Regions from separate parts of the Homo sapiens genome. Here region 1 is linked to region 2. The links are contacts of gene promoters, found by promoter capture Hi-C in human tissues and cell types (Jung and others, 2019). All regions are on one chromosome and are shown on one strand. The core of a region is centred on a gene start or on the middle of the fragment in contact, and the rest is flanking DNA. Distances in the headings are between cores, read along the strand shown.

What was found. The method cuts DNA at HindIII sites, captures the fragments that hold promoters and counts their contacts. A contact is called where the count stands out against the background at its distance.
Region 1: a contact is called between a fragment that was not itself captured here and the fragment with the promoter of PLAC8L1 in region 2, in 1 of the 25 tissues and cell types used here (mesendoderm cells).

The regions. Positions count from the first base shown.
Region 1 is chr5:145,887,831-145,890,903 of GRCh38, forward strand. It overlaps a transcript of GRXCR2 not described here. Among named protein-coding and RNA genes, the nearest start is that of GRXCR2, 16 kb to the left of the region's middle. The HindIII fragment of the contact is 4,676 bases long and covers 1-3,073 here.
Region 2 is chr5:146,103,912-146,106,974 of GRCh38, forward strand. It overlaps PLAC8L1 (PLAC8 like 1), which reads right to left and starts at 1,666. Exons shown (of 4, transcript NM_001029869.3): 1 at 282-1,666. The coding sequence starts at 400. The HindIII fragment of the contact is 8,663 bases long and covers 1-3,063 here.

The DNA of each region.
Region 1 (3,073 bases), core at 91-2,590, 220 kb before region 2:
AGAAAGCGTTTGTAGCCATCCCAATCACAGGGATCCTAGACATACACAGAGTGCCTATTTTACAATAACTTCTAGGGAAATCACATCCAAGCATTTGTTTTTAAAATATGTAGTATTTTATATCAATTACTTTCCTTTTATTTCTCTTTATATTAGAGCAAGGGCATTATATTGGTTTTTTAAAGTTATATTTGCAGGTAATTGTTTAATTTATTAATTTTATTCCAGAATAGTGCAGAGGGTTAGGAAGTGTTACTGAAAGCATGCATTATGTCTGATGGATTAAGAGCCACTGCTCTAGTAAGCATGGCTAGTTAAAGCTGATGAAGACTCTGCCACCTGCAGGGAGGAGAGGGAACTCAGGCTGCATCACGGAATGCACTAGGAAAGGATGTGATTGTGTGGCTCCAGAGGACAGGAAAGAGCTATTTCAATTAAACAAATACATACTTTGTATCTACTAAGTCTAAAGCATGGGGTCCTGGAAGACAGGGCTACAGCAGCAACCCAAACAATGTAAGCCTTCTCCCAAGGTGCTCACGGTGGAGCGTAGAAAAATATGTGGGTCTGGGGAAGTAGGGATCGGGCCAAGTGGGCAAGAACAATCCACTGGTCAGAGACCCCCGATCCATTTCAAACCTCTCTGCTAACAACCTGTGCAGGTTACTTGATCTAGGAGAATGTAACAAGGATGCCAAGGTTTTGGCACATATGCTTAATTTTTTTCAAAATTTACACCAGCTTAGAAAATCTACATAAAAATATAAAAGTAATACACGAATACAGTGTTTTGTATAAATTCAAAAACTAGAGATGCAGGTAAAGAACAAAAAAGTCTTCATTTTTCCTAAAAAATAACTATTACTATAAATCTAGAATATGTCCTTCTCAACATTTTATGCATTTATATACATATGTATGCAAGATACAAATAATTTTAATGGGTTTTTCTTAAAAACATAAGTGAAGTTATACACTCTGTGTGTGTATAGCTTTACAACTTCATTTTTCCTTTTATTGAAAAATAGGTCTTGGCACAAAGGCATAAGAATGACACAATGGGCCGGGTGCAGTGGCTCACGCCTGTAATCCCAGCACTTTGGGAGGCCGAGGTGGGCAGGTCACTTGAGGCCAGGAGTTTGAGACCAGCCTAGCCAACATGGTGAAACCCTGTCTCTACTAAAAATATAAAAACTAGCCGGGCGTGGTGGCAGGCGCCTGTAATCCTGAGGCAGGAGAATCGCCTGAACCTGGAAGCTGGAGGCAGAGGTTGCAGTGAGCCGAGATCGCACCACTGCACTCCAGCTTGAGCTGGGTGACAGACCGAGACTCTGTCTCAAAAAAAGAAAGAAAGAAAGAAAGAAAGAAAGAAAGAAAGAAAGAAAGAAAGAAAGAAAGAAAGAAAGAAAGAAAGAATTATGCAATGGACTCTGGGGACTTGGGGGGAAGTGTTGGGGTTGGGAGGCAAGGGATAAAAGACTACAAATAGGGTACAATGTATACTGCTTGGGTGATGGGTGCACTAAAATCTCACAAATCACCACTAAAGAACTTACTCATGTAACCAAATACCACCTGTGCCCCAATAACCTATGCAAATACAGTACATAAATAAAAATAAAAATATGTCTTAGAACTCCCAGCTGTCATCTGCTGTTGCATCTCCAAGCTTTTGGGAACTTCTGGGCATGTTTTGCTCTCCACATCACTCACTTTTTGAAGGAAAGAAAGAAGAGGAAAAAATCTACCCATAGAAAAATAAATACAAAAATTAGAAGTACCGGTGTCTCCAGATGAGAAGGAACTGGCACAAGAATTCTGCCACCATGAAAAATCTGAATGTGGCAATACCACCAAAGCATTGCATTAGCTTTCTAGCAATGGTCCCTACACAAAATGGAAACTCGGAAATGACAGGTAAAGAATTCAAAGCATGGATTGCAAGAAAGCTCACTGAGATCCAAGACAAGGTTGAAAATCAACAGAAAGAAACTTCCAAAGCAGTCCAGAAAATGAAGGAAGAGATAAACATCTTAAAAAGACAGCAAAGCAGTCCAGAAAATGAAGGAAGAGATAAACATCTTAAAAAGAAAGCAATCTGAGCTTCTGGAATTAAAATACTCATGTAAGGAGTTTCAAAATACAATTGAAAGCTTTGTCAATAGACTGGACTAAGCAGAAGAAATAATTTCAGAGATTAAAGACCAGACTTTTGAACTAAACCAATCTGACAAAAATAAAGACAAAAGTTTTTGTTTTGTTTGTTTGTTTTTTAAAAAGACAGCATCTTCTTCTGTTGCCAGGCTGGAGTGCAGTGACATAACTGTGGCTCACTACAACCTCTGCCTCCCAGGTTCAAGCATTTCTCCTGCCCTCAACCTCCTGAATACCTGGGATTACAGGCATGTGCCACCATGCCTAGCTAATTTTTGTATTTTTAGTAGAGAAGGAGTTTCATCATGTTGGCCAGGCTGGTCTTGAACTTCTGACCTCAAGTAATCTGCCCACCTCAGCCTCCCAAAGTGCTGAGATTACAGGTGTGAGCCACTGCACCTGGCAGGAATTTTTTTAAATGAGCAAAGACTTCGAGAAATATGGGATTATGTGAAGTCACCAAATCTATAAATTACTGGCATTCCTGAGAGAGAAGCAGAAAAAGCAAACAACCTGGAAAGTATATTTGAAAAAATAATTCAAGAGAACTGAAGGAGAAATAAAATATTTTCCAGTCAAGCAAGCACTGAGGGAATTTGTTACCACTAGACCAGTCTTATAAGAGACCTTTAAGGGAGTTTTAAACATGGAAGCAAAAGAATGATACCTGTTACCACAAAAACACAGCTAAACACATAGCCTGCAGACCCTGTAGAGCAAAAACACCATAGAAATACAAAGCAGACAACTAACAACTTCATGATATGCTCAAAATTTCACATGTTAATATTAATTTTGAATGCAGATGGTCTAAACACCCCGTTTAAAAGTCACAGAAGGGCAAGTTGAATTAAAAAAAAAAAAAGACTCATTGACCTGCTGTCTTCAAAAGACCTGTCTCACACATAATGACACCCAT
Region 2 (3,063 bases), core at 416-2,915:
ATTGGCAGTCTCTAAAAATAAAGTTCCACTTGGTCAGGGTTCAACATTTTAAGAATAAAGAGATACCATTTCACCCAAGCCAGCCCTTTTCTTGTCACCAGCCAAGAAAGGCCAGAAGGAACAAATCAGTTGCCCTCTTTTCAAGTTTGCATGGAGAAAAGATAGCAACCACTTTCTTCCCAAGCCCAGTTTTCTTTTCCCTGGTTCCTTATAAGTAGAGGTTGATTCGATAGTCCAACTAAAGAGCAAAAGCTAGGGGAAAAACTCACCCTATTCCCTACCTCAAGTTGGAAATAAAATGTTCATCTTCAGATGACATGTGTGACAACAGAGGTGAGTATATGTTGAGTAAGGAAAGATCCTCAGGACACCTGAAGAAGTTACTTCCAAACCAATTCATAGTGAGAAGTGTTTTCTTGTCCTTTGGGCTATCCTTTTTCCCTTTGGCAATAAGCTGGTTTCTAAACTTCGGATTAGTCCAAAGTGAAACATCTCTTGAAAGAATGTTCCCTTAATATTCTGGAACCTGAGGTCATAGCAGTGTAACTAACAGACATCTTTTTTCTTTAAAAACAGGTATACACCTAACTGTGGACACATTCATCTTACTAATCTGTAGGGAGATATTGCTGGAGTATAGAGTAAATAGAAGAAAAAGACTTATCTTTGGTGGAAAACTCTTTAAGAGATGCCTCTAGTAAACATTTATCTAGCTAAGTGCCACTTGACCGTTCCTTGGAAGATTCAGAAGGCTGAAAATTTCTGCCATGCCATGTGACTGAGAAGCAGCAGAGACCTCTCTTCATCCCCTGAACTGCTGGTCCAATTCAGCCAGATGATGCAAGTCCCATAGCCAACCCAAAAGCAGGAGCAAAAAAAAGTCTTTCAGCGCAGGTATTGTATTTGAATCCATCTTATGAAAGGTGGTCTCCTCAAGTTTGAGCTATGGTAGATTGTCACAAGCCTCAAAGCCTTTTCAGAACTTCTAGAAATTCTCTGCTCTTCCATTAACTTCATTGATAATGCCAGGAAAGTGGCATTTCTTTCCTACCCAGTCCAGACGGAATCTAGTAACTGAAGCAAGGCTTGCCTGGTGATGTCCTCACAACAGCTCTGAATCCTCAAGGTCTCAGGAGCCTCTGAATCATGCCTCTGGCACATGTCTTATGGAGGTGTGGACCCTAGAAATATTAGGAAATATCCTAAGACAAAAAATTAGGCAAAATTTCACGTTGAGGAAAGGGCTCTGCAATCATAATTTGACATTACATTAGAAAGACATCAGGAGGATACTGCCAATTATATCATATATTCTTTTCATCAGACCCATAGAGAATGGTTGCTTAGGGTTCTGAACTTCAAAGCATTTATTGAACCAGGTTGTTAGGAAAAGCCTATAATACCTTCCAAATCAAGATTCCTCAGACATAGCTTCATAACTGCCTTCAATCATGGGGTTCTGGGCAACTGTCATTGTCTTCTTAACAGTAAGGATGTACCCTACATTAAGGACAGGTATGTTTTTTCTGCTTACTACTCTATTCCAAGTGCTGACCACAGTGTCTGGCACATAAAAAGCACTCAATAATTTGTTGAATAAATGTGCCCTACATGAAAATTCAGGTTTATAAGAATAACAGAAATTAAGAGGTGATTACTAGCTTTGCAAAAAAAAAAAAAAAAAAAAAAAAAGATTTACAGTAAGATTCCTTTGAAGAGTAAACCACCATGGTACATATAAGCTATGACTCCATATTTTTACATTTCATTTGCGCCCAACTTTTCTAATCAAACGTCTATTGTATGAAGTGACTAATCCACATGCTACACAGCTTTTTCATTTAAAAATAAAATGAAAAGAATAGAAAAGGCATGTGCTTTATAAAAGAATGCCAAATATTTATGAAAAAGAAATAATAGCATTAGAATATCACCATTTTGCATAGCCCCAGCATAACAACATATCAGGAAGGAAATTCAGAAGCATTAAAACCATTAGATAAAAAAGATTAGGAACCAAATATTCTCAAGGTGCAAAAATATAACTATTCCACATATTTCTAATTGCAAAAGAGAAAATGTACCTTAACTATGAAAAATTCCAGAAGTACTCAAAATGCATATTTACATTGGAAAGTTCTGAAAGTGTAAGAAAAAAAAAGTACCCTTACAATAAAAGCTCTGGGTGTGATTTTAACAAATATGCCTTTACATCAGAAGGTCCTAGAAGTGATCAAAATGTATCTTTAACATTACCCTTCACCCTTCCTCCATGATTGTAGGTTCCTGAGGCCTCCCCAGCCATGCCTCCTGTATAGCCTGTGGAACTGAGTCAATTAAAACTCTTTTTTAAATAAATTACCCAGTCTCAGGTAGTTTTTTATAGCAGTATAAAAACACACTAGGCCAGATGCAGTGGCTCACACCTGTAATCCCAGCACTTTGGGAGGCTGAGACGGGCAGATCATCTGAGGTCAGGAGTTTCAGACCAGCCTGGCCAACGTGGTGAAACCCCATCTCTACTTAAAAATACAAAAATTAGCCAGGCGTGGTGGCAGGCACTGTAATCCCAGCTACTCAGGAGGCTGAGGCAAGAGGATCGCTTGAACCTGGAAGGCAGAGGTTGCAGTGAGCCAAGATCATTCGACTGCACTCCAGTCTAGATGACAGAGCAAGATTCTGTCTCAAAAAAAAAAAAAAGAAAAAGAAAAGAAAACACACTAATACAAGCTCTATGCACAGCAGAGGGCCATTACAAATCTTATTGATGCTGTAAATTTTGGGGTGAAGTATTTTCTACCTGACTGGGGTCCATATAAACTTCTCCTTTCTCTGACCTCCTAATGGCCCTGGTAACACTGGCCTTGGTCAAATACATTCCTGTTTTCCATGCACGAATTCTTTGTTGTCTAAGTGCAATGAAGATGGAGGCCAGGGCTCTAATTCAACTCTGCTGCTAATACATAGGATCTTGAGCCAGTGACTTTGACCTGTTTCTTCATGTGGCTTCCTTGCTATTCCTTCAGCACACCAGCTACATGCCCCTGCCTCAGGGCAAAAAAT